Regions from separate parts of the Homo sapiens genome. Here region 2 is linked to region 1. Evidence: promoter capture Hi-C in 16 types of primary human blood cells and fetal thymus (Javierre and others, 2016). All regions are on one chromosome and are shown on one strand. The core of a region is centred on a gene start or on the middle of the fragment in contact, and the rest is flanking DNA. Distances in the headings are between cores, read along the strand shown. Region 1 holds the start of PCSK7 (proprotein convertase subtilisin/kexin type 7). Region 2 overlaps ARCN1 (archain 1 coat protein complex I subunit delta).

What was found. Contacts are between HindIII fragments. The CHiCAGO score rates a contact against its expected background, and 5 or more counts as called.
Region 2: a contact is called between a fragment that was not itself captured here and the fragment with the promoter of PCSK7 in region 1, in 1 of 17 cell types (monocytes). The highest score is 5.7, in monocytes.

Annotation. Positions count from the first base shown.
Region 1 is chr11:117,228,903-117,233,937 of GRCh38, forward strand. PCSK7 (proprotein convertase subtilisin/kexin type 7) reads right to left here and starts at 3,171. Exons shown (of 17, transcript NM_004716.4): 1 at 3,125-3,171; 2 at 1,447-1,566; 3 at 475-954. The coding sequence starts at 942. RNF214 (ring finger protein 214) reads left to right here and starts at 3,769. Exons shown (of 15, transcript NM_207343.4): 1 at 3,769-3,824. RefSeq lists enhancers at 1,860-2,099, 2,969-3,018 and silencers at 3,209-3,358, 3,569-3,908. The HindIII fragment of the contact is 17,537 bases long and covers 1-5,035 here.
Region 2 is chr11:118,573,072-118,577,991 of GRCh38, forward strand. The region is part of intron 1 of ARCN1 (archain 1 coat protein complex I subunit delta); the gene reads left to right. It also overlaps a transcript of IFT46 not described here. Among named protein-coding and RNA genes, the nearest start is that of ARCN1, 3.1 kb to the left of the region's middle. The HindIII fragment of the contact is 2,250 bases long and covers 2,381-4,630 here.

The sequences.
Region 1 (5,035 bases), core at 1,921-4,420:
AGCCACCGCACCGGGCCAGATGATACACCTCTTATGCCAATGGTAGTATCGTATCACTTATGTCATAGTGTTTACCATGTGTCAGGCATGGTTCTAAGTGCTACACATGTATACATTCACTTACCCTAACCATAACTCTATGAGGTAGGCACTATTACAATCTCCACTTTACAGATGGAGAAGCTGAGGCACAGAGTTTAAGCAGCTTGCCCAAATGCACATGCTAGTAAGTGGCAGAGCTGGACCATGAGCCCAGGCAGCCTGGCTGCACCATCTGTGCCCTGAGCACTGTAGAACACCGGCCTCTAGAAGACAGTAGAAGGGAGGGAGAGCCTAGGGAAACACCACAGAACCGGGAAATGGTCCCTCAGGCAAAGGATGGAGGTGACTGAAGAGTGATATAGTCAAAAGCCCATTAAAGAACTGGACTGGAACCTACCCACCTGAAACTGCAAACTGCAGGACTGGACTCACCAGGTGCCATTGCTGCGGGTACTTGGGGTCGTTGAAGTGGACGCTGCGCTTGGCCCGCCTTAGCAGCCTCTGCTCTGAGTGCCAGCGCACAGCTTCATGCCCAGCCAACACAGCCTCCACCTGCTGCCGGATGGCCTCCACCTCCAGGGCCGGCCTGTGCCCAGCAGGCTGGACAAAGAGGTAGTGCCCCTGAAGCTCTCCGATGCGTCCAGCATTCACCAGCCCTGCTGCCTGGGCCAAGGCATCCGCCTGCTGCTCCAGAGTCTCTTCCTCCCCGTCACCTTCCAGGCTTTCCAGGTGCACAGCCCAGCTCGGCCCCCCTGTGCCCTGGCCATCAGGCCCACCTGTCCCTGCCAGGCCCATGACCCAGGGAACCAGTAAGAAGAGCCCGGCTAATTCCAGCCAGAGGCAGGTGGGCAGGCCCAGGGGGGCATCCAAGTGTGGCACTTTCTGCCTCCCCTTCGGCATCAGAGCAGTGGACTGCAGACAAAGAAAAAGGATATGGAAGAGATCAAAGAGCTGGTAACTGCAGGAATCTGAGAGGGAGATGCTGAGCCATCCATGTGTTCCCCCTGGAAGTCCCTAAGCCATGCCTTTTAAATTGTGAAACATTTGATCTTCTCTTTTTGTTCACATTTATCCCTGACCAACAGGGATAAGCCCCCAGGTGGAGTGTGGGCCAGCACTAACACCAGCGGATGGCCTCCCACAGCAAGACAGCCAATCCTCACGACACCAGCTAATCCAGCAGGAGGTCCAGTTGCTCACAGGCACTGCGAGCAACCCCTGTTGCCACCCACAGGGCTCAAAGCACACATCGCTTCCACAAACTACTGGCTGCATCGTGACTGTTCTTTAGCAGAGACAACCCCTTCACCCCTACATTTAGAGGGGACATAAATCTTTCCCTAGCTGACTCCTCAGTCCAGTTGTCCTCAAGGCTAATTCCCCATAACAGGGCCCCGTGCCCACCTGGATTCTACATGAGGTTGAGCTCCTGGTCTGGCTAACCACGTCACACTCATGTTGTGCAAATGGAGAAAAGGCATCACTTTCACTGTGAGTAGTGTTGACTCAGCAAAGGCTACAGACCTGTGGGATCCAAGAACAGAAGAAATAATGTCCCACCAATCCCAGGGCAACAAGCTGAGGTTAGATAAACTCCAGGACCAGGGACCAAAGAAACTTCATTAATTGTCATTTCCAAAGATCTAAAATCGGTCATAGACTGGAGCAGAACTGGTACGGTGAGGCCAAATCAGTATAACACCCAAAAAACCCACTTCCTGTGCTATCGTGCCACCCTCTTTTCATTTTGTTCCCCAGAGGCCTAGCAAAAAACAGTTACCAAAATGCCTCTTGAAAGAGTAGGTAATAACGTCCTAGAAGTCCAGGTGGTAGCTAACTTCTTGATTTGTATATCCCAGAAGGATACCAGGGAAAGTGAAAGGAGGGAGGCGGCGGGGGCGAAACGGGGAAAGCCAGAGAGTGCAAACAAAACAGAACAGGCACCAAGGACAAGCGGGCAACCAGGAGAGAACGAATGATGAGAGAACCTCACTAAGCAGCTACTCCTGTACTGAGCTCAGGAGGCTGGCTTCAAGGTGAGGACTCAGACTCCAGACTGGGACTCCAATTGCCTGGGTTTGACAGAACCAGGGAATTGGTCTCAGGAGCCCTCAAAAAAAAAAAAAAAGAGCCAAGTTAGAACTGGGGGACAGACAAATGGGGTGGCAGGACATGTGTGTACCTATGGTGGCTGGGCTCCTTTAAAAGCCTTTGCTCTCCACTGGGTCCACCCTGGGGCAGGGCTTAGTACTCAGATACACACCCAAGCGGCTCTACCTCAAAGCATTCCAGAAAAATGGGAATTTTACTGAAAGGCTTCCTGGAAAGGAGAACTTATGCCACCTCTCCTTTACCTCTAAAAATCTTCATACTACATTTCTTCCTCTCGTTTTCTCTTAGGTTTCCAGGCATATTCCCTCTCAATCCCTCCCTGCCCCCGGGAGCCTCAATTCTCCCAAGATATTTAGGTGTCTTCCCCAGTCTGCATACTCTACTAAGTAAACAAACTAACAAACAAAACCCTTGTTAGCCAGACAGTGGCCCCGCTAGGCAGACTCCTTCAGACTCAGTAGATCCCACCACAGATGTCAGGAAGAAAGAGAAGCAGGAGCTCCTTCTGTCTACTAGTGGCAAAGCAGCATTTTTATCCCCCAGGCTTCTGGGAAAGGAACCTTAAATGCCTTCTGAAAGCAGGTCTCAACCTCTCCCAACGGCTAGGCCTCCCTTTACAGCTCTTAATTGACAAGGAAGAAGAGAATGGGCAGCCTGGAGTCCAAGATCCTGCTCCCAAGCTACTGTCCTCGCTGTTCCACACCCGGCTCCTAGAAGCCAGCTTGGGTACCGGGTCAGTTTCCCGATTCTCCCTCCGTCGGCCTCGATCGCTCCGTGCAATGTGCCCCTCTCCTCATTAGCACCCACATTATCCAGGAATTCTGGGCCCTGGGGCCCCATCTCCTTGGTCCCCCACGCCAGGACCTCAGGCACCCTCTGTGCAGCTCCCTCATCCTCAGACGCCGGCTTCCCCCACTTCTGGGGCCCCCTGACCACCCAGGTCCAGCCCCACACCTAGTTCCCAACTCACCGGCCCCGCCGCAGCTGCCGCCGCCTCCCTGCGGAAACTCGCGGCTTCCCGGGAGCCGGAGGAGCAGTGACAGCAGCATCACTTCCGCCCGCGGCGCAGCCAATCAGCGCGGCGCCTGCGGCCCGGCGACCCCCGCGGGCCACAGCAACCGGCGCCCGGGGTCCGGCTCCCGCGGGCGGCCTACGCAGGCAGGGGCCGTGCGGGCGCTGGGGGCTGAACCCGCGGGCTCCGCCTCCCCGAGTCCTCGGGGCATCTTCCACATGGTCCCTCTTCAGAAGGCTCTCCTTCATGGCGTCCTCTGTAAAGGGCATTTCGGTTCCGACCTTTAAAAGCCACTCGTTGCTCTTCTCCTTCTGACCGCCATGGCCCCGACTGTCCCTGTAATCTTCCCAGAGGGGATCCTGCCCACCCAGGTCGCCTTCCTTCTCGCAGTCGGCTCTCCCTTCTTCCCCGCGCCCCGGGAGAGTCCACTTGTATCTCAGGGGTCTCCCGCAGCATCCCCGTGCCCCGGCGGCGCCAGCTGTCGCCGCCAGAGGGCGCCGTCGGGGGCGGCGCGGCGCCACCGCGGCCTCTCCTCTCGCGGCCGGAGCCTCGCCCCCTCCGCTCGTGCCGCCGGAAGTGGGAGGTGCCGCGCGCGGGCCGGCGCTCGACCCCTCCCCCCGTGGCTCGGCCGCCCCCTCCCCCCGCTCCGCCCGCTCAGGTGCGTCCCGTCCCTCCCCCACTTTCCTCCCGGGGGCGCGGCGCGGGAGGTGTGTGCGGGGCGAGCGTGGGTGGGGGTTGCGGGGCGAGGGCCGGGCATGGGGGTCGGGTGGGGGGCGTGGAGGGTGCTGTGAGAACCGAGGCGGGGGTCCCGGCCTAGAAGTGGGACGGGGGGGTGGCTGGCAGCGGGGTGGGGGGACCGAGGGGAAGGGGTGGAGGGGGGTCTGGTCCGAGCCAGCGGCCAGCCTAGCAGTCCCCTGTGGGGGGTGGCCAAGGCCACCCAGCGCCGCTTCCCCCCATTGTCCCCTTCCCGTCTGTCCCCTGTTCTCGCCCGAGGACCCGTGGCTCCGGCGCCCCTGCTTCGCTGGTGGTCGCCCCGGGTTGCGGAGTTCTTTTTGGTACACTCGACCCTCCAGCCAGCTGTTCCTACCCGCGCCACGGGCTCTCTAGCCACGGAGTTGCATGCATGGCCCTTGTCCTGGGGTTTCGTTCACCGGGCGCAGAGGACCCCCCAGCCCTGGGCTATGTTGGAGACGGGATGTTTGCACCTGAGGGAGCAGCAATGGCGGTTTGGGCCCATTTTCTCCCAGGAGCTTTGTATAATGAGGGAAACTGAGGCACAGAGGGTCTGTGGGCTGTGACTGAGGTGTTGACACAGCCCCATCTACCTATCTGCCCTATGCGCTCTTCAGTGTTCCGGGGGGGAATACGTGTGATGCTGTTAAAATAAAAGCAAGAATGCAAACTAACCCGATGTTCATCCCCACCTCCCAAGTATTTTGATTTTCTTTTCTCCTCATAAGGTCATAAGTTTGCTCTGCGGCATAAAAGATGACCTTTTGATTTTTAAAAAAGGCGTCCGTCCCAGTTCCCTTACTTGTGTTACCATGTTTTTTACCTTGACTTTTTCACGCTAGAGAACCCAGGATTCTTTTTTGCACCACTAGTCACTCTGAAGAGTCTGTTCTTTGCTCAGTTAGTGGGTATCAGGCCTTTCCCATCTGTGGGGAGCACGCTGACAGTAAAATATGCACCCTGGATTGCCCAGTATTGCATTACTTGTTGACTTACAGGCAGACACCTCCAAAAACTTCCCTTAAATTAATGGAGAATGCTTTGAATGTAACAGCCATAAAGTGATTTAAAAACATGAGATCTGATTGATACTAGGCCGAAAAGTACGTCTTTTATTAAAAATGATAGCAGACAAGG
Region 2 (4,920 bases), core at 2,256-4,755, 1.3 Mb after region 1:
TGGAGACACAGAGCGGAAAGGAGTAACTTCTAACACTAATGTATAGGACCCAAGTGTCTCTGAAACCTTCCACTACTTCCGCAGAACTCACTTGTGTCCATTTGTTAGTGTGACTCGGGGTACATACACTGTGTAGACCACTGGGAAAATGTGAGCAGGTTCCAGAGAACACAGGGTTTGCCTTCAAGGAACTTATTGTCCAGGTGAAGAAAAATGTGTATGTGGCATGTCGTAGTCAGATGTCTCACAGGAGGTGGAGTAAGAGGGATGGGTTAGCCTCCGAGACCAGTTACTTGCCTTCCCATGCGTTATCTTTGTATACTCATCTGTTACAAGGATGAGAAAGGTTAATGTGGTTGAGGATGGAGGAAATCAGAACTGCTGACATCACTCAATCTTCCTTTATCGCTGTGATTTGTGGATATTCATGAAGTAGTAGACATTCTTTGGTTTCAAAAAAGCTAGTAATTTATTTTTCAGTGCACCTTATGTCCTTTAGTCTTTTGAAGGATGTTCTGTTCTGTTCTTTTTTATTCTTTTGTCAATAGATAACTTGATTTAAAACATCGTCCAGTGTACCTGAGAGATGGCAGAATGTAATTTGGTGGCAATCCTAATAAGTTCTATTGACAACCCTTTAGATAAGAACTTGGATAATGGGGGGAATTCATGCTTGGACTTTAGGCCACTGAACAGCTTTTCTCAGCCTCAGGTATATAAATTGCATCAAACAGGTTTGCCTCCTAAAATTTTTGTGTTGGACACAAAATTTCCAGAAACTTGTATTTTCAGTTTCTCCAGGAGGTTCTGTATTTGGTTAGTGATTTTGAAACTCAGTTCCCGTTTACACCCTGGAATTAATAATGCATTTTAGAGCATATTTTTATTTTAATAGTAAAGTTAAGGTCTTGTATTATATAAACCAGATAAAGGTAATCTTTCTAAAAATATTCTTTGTTAAAAGGTTCTTGGAACTTAGTATTTTTAATTCATTGATAACTGAGGGATGGTAAAGCCCTACGTGATATATATAAAATATAACTTTTGCATGCTATTTTGACATGTGTACGTATACATAGAGTTGTGTCACATATTTCTGAATTATTTGGGACTTAACATGATCCAGATACCCACAGATTTGTGTACTCTGGAGAACAATTTATCTCAGTACATTCTGCTCTGTAGAGTGTTAAGACATTGGTATGATTTCTGTGTAATGTTTTTGGGTCCTGCTCCTTTACAAACAGATCCCTGGACAGTAGAAATGTCCAGATAGGGTGAAATTTTTATCTAAAAGTTGTATCAAAATTTCCAGCGTTTATTTTAGCTCAACATTTCATTATGAAATTTTCCAACATCTGGAAAAGTTGAAAGAACTTTGTAGTGAATACCCATATAACCACCAACTAGATTCTATAACTAACATTTCACTATATTTTATCATGCATCTAATCATCCATCCATCCCTCTCTCCATTAAAAAAAAATATACATTTCAAAGTAAGTTGCAGATATCAGTACGTAAACATTGATTTTTTAAAAAATAAATTCCCTTTGGCTTTAGTTATTGAAGTGCAGAATGTCCTAGACTGCAAAGTTCCAATAGATAAATAAGTGAACAAATGCAGAAACAAATGCTTTCTCATGACTTCATCATAAAATAAAGTACAAAGAAAGGCATCTTTTGATTTTTTTTTTTTAAAGAGACAGGGTCTCACTATGTTGCCCAGGCTGGAGGGCAGTAGCTATTCACAGGCGCTATCATAGTGCACTGCGGCCTAGAACTCCTAGCCTCAAGCAATCCTCCCGCCTCCATATCCCAAGTAGCTGGGACTGTAGGCATGCGGGCCTTGATTTGATCTTTTTTTTGTATTCTGCAAATTAATGAGAACATGTTCTGACTTTTTTTCTTGTTTGTTTGGTTTTCGAGACGGATTCTCGCTCTGTCTCCAGGCTGGAGTGCAGTGGCACAATCTCAGCTCACTGCAACTTCTGCCTCCCGGGTTCAAGCTATCCTCCTGCCTCAGCCTCCTGAGTAGCTGGGACTGCAGGCGCCTGCCACCACGCCCAACTACTTTTTTGTATTTTTAGTAGATACGGGGTTTCACCATGTTAGCCAGGATAGTCTCGATCTCCTCACCTCGTGATCTGCCCGCCTCGGCCTCCCAAAGTGCTGGGATTATAGGTGTGAGCCATGGCGCCCGGCCCCTGTATTATTTATGTATCTTTTTAATTGTGTTTTGAGGGACAGCAAAGAAAGAAAATGATTCTCTTGAGTTTCCATTGATTTGCCATCTATTTATGTCTTCATATAGAAGTTCACTGCAGAAACTGATAACGGGTGTGTGTGTGTGTGTGTGTGTGTGTTTTAATTCTCTGCAAGCTTTTGTTTTAGAATAGAAATGTGATGGACTTAAAACCCTCACTGAGTAAATTACTTTTCAAGTTTTAGGTTTCGTATGTGGTCTACATTTTATTGTAATCTTCTCTCTGATTTTATCTATAATAGCTTCATATAAATAGAAAAGACAGAACAGTCCTCCCTGACAATTATAGAAACTAGCCTTAATATGACCATGAATTGTGTGTGCATGTATATGTGTATAAAATATTGCGGTGAATTACAAAGGAGAAGGTGACTATAATTCTGGAAGTAAGGGATCCTGAAGCATTTAGAGATTCAAGAAAGAACTTGACTTTTTTTGAGAGAGAGTTGTGCATATTTATCCTGAATTATTATACCACCTGTTATTCTTGTATCTCTCTTGCACACACAATTTGTTATGGTTAGACAATTTGCCTTCTGGCAGCCTAATGTTACTATAAAATATTGTTCCAAAGTGGTTAGAACTGGAGCAGTGGGTATAAAATGGAAGTATTGTACATTTTCTGTCACTGTAGTTGTTTTTTTTTTTTTCTGTTACTGTAGTTTTCAAATGCTTAGACTTACAGAACTTTAAAGACACAGAGCACTTTGGATTTCATGTAAACTAACCTCCTATGTTAGGGATATTTCAATAATCAATTAAGTGACTTATCCAAGGTCACATAATTAGTGGCAAAGGCAGAACAGAAACCTAATTCTCCAGGTTTTTTTACTTGAGGCACTTAACAATTCATGTAGTTAAGTCTGTGTAGGAGAGAGTTGTTATTTAGTCCAAAGATAGTGTACTCAAACCATGTAAGAATTATTAAAAGTTGTTTGGCAAAGCTCAACTTTATGAGGGAATTTTTTTTTTTTTTAACCGTCCTGGAGAGATCATCTAACTTATGGGCCCTCAGTTTTCACATCTGTAAGACAATCAAGGGCTCTTGCAAGTTCCTTTTAGATCTGGAATGTTTTTTCCAAAAATGTTAAAAAAAAAAAAAAAAAAAAAAACCAAAAACTTTGTAATCATATTTATTAATTCTTCCTCAGAGAAAATCAGATCAAATTTCAATAGGGAAAATTGTTAACTTACCTTTTAGTATATGCTATATTTTAATAATTGTTAAACCAGTAAACATTAATGTAAAGAGGTTTATTATTTCAAGAACTTTAAGAAGACAAATGTTAATTTAGGATAGGATAAATTTATCATGTTTAGAGGTGACCATACCTTCTAGCCATATTAGTAGCTGTAACAGAGAGACCTGTGTCAACTGCCTGGAACCTGTAATTTGTGGTGTCCTGGGTGTTCGGAGATTTATGCTATACTTAGTATGGGGAACTATGGTCCTATTTTGGAAGCCTTGTTTTGCTTGTATCTGGATAATGGAATGACTCAAAGAGAGACATATGATTTTACCCTACTTCTTTCTTCATCTTGACGTACTGAAAGCCTGGAATTCTGGCCAGGTGTGGCGGCTCATGCCTGTAATCCCAGCACTTTGGGAGGCTCAGGCGGGCAGATCACTTGAGGTTGGGAGTTTGAGACCAGCCTGGGCAACATGGCAAAACCCTGTCTCTACAGAAAAATACAAAAAATTAGCCAGGTGTGGTGGCCTGTGCCTGTAGTCCCAGATACTTGGGAGGCTGAGGTGGGAGAATCACCTGAGCCCAGAAGGTTGAGGCTGCACTGAGCCAAGATCACGCCACTGCACTACAGCTTGGGCAATAGAGCAAGACTCTGTTTCAAAACAAACAAATCCTGGAATTCATCAAAGCATGATCTAAATTCTGTTTCTTTCTTTCTTTCTTTCTTTTTTTTTTTTGAGGCAGAGTCTCACTTTGTAGCCCAGGCTGGAGTGAAGTGGTATGATCTTGGCTTACTGCAACTTCCGCCTCCCAGGTTCAAGCAATCCTCCCACCTCACTCTCCCCGTAGCTGGGACTACAGACGTGCACCACCAGACTTGGCTAATTTTTTGTATTTTTTGGTAGAGACAGGGTTTTCCCATGTTGACCAGGCTGGTCTCGAACTCCTGACCTCAGGTGATCTGCCTGCCCTGGCTCCCAAAGTGCTGGATTAAGGCATGAGCCACCGCTCCCGGCCTAAATGCTGTTTCTTCTATCAAGTCATCCCTGACTGTACCAGCTGGAAGTAATCTCTTCCTCTGAATTTCCACGCACTTTATCGGTTACTCTCTCATGTTACTTAACACATTCTGCCTCATATTACAGTTATTTGTGTTTGTGTCTTATCCCTATTAAGCTTCTTGTAGGCAGAATGCTAGCCTGTGTCATCTTAATTCTCAGAAAGCATGTTGTATGTATAGTAGATGTTCGATAAATAATTACTCAGTTAATTCTTATAATATCGCAAAAATGGAGATTACCAGTACCTATAATTAGTTTTTGAACATGCTCATCAGTAAAGTGGATGGGCCAGGTGCAGTGGCTCACTCCTGTAATCCCAACACTTTGGAGGCCAAGGCGCGCAGATGACTTGAGGCCAGGAGTTGGAGACCAGCCTGCCCAACATGGCAAAACCCTGTCTCTA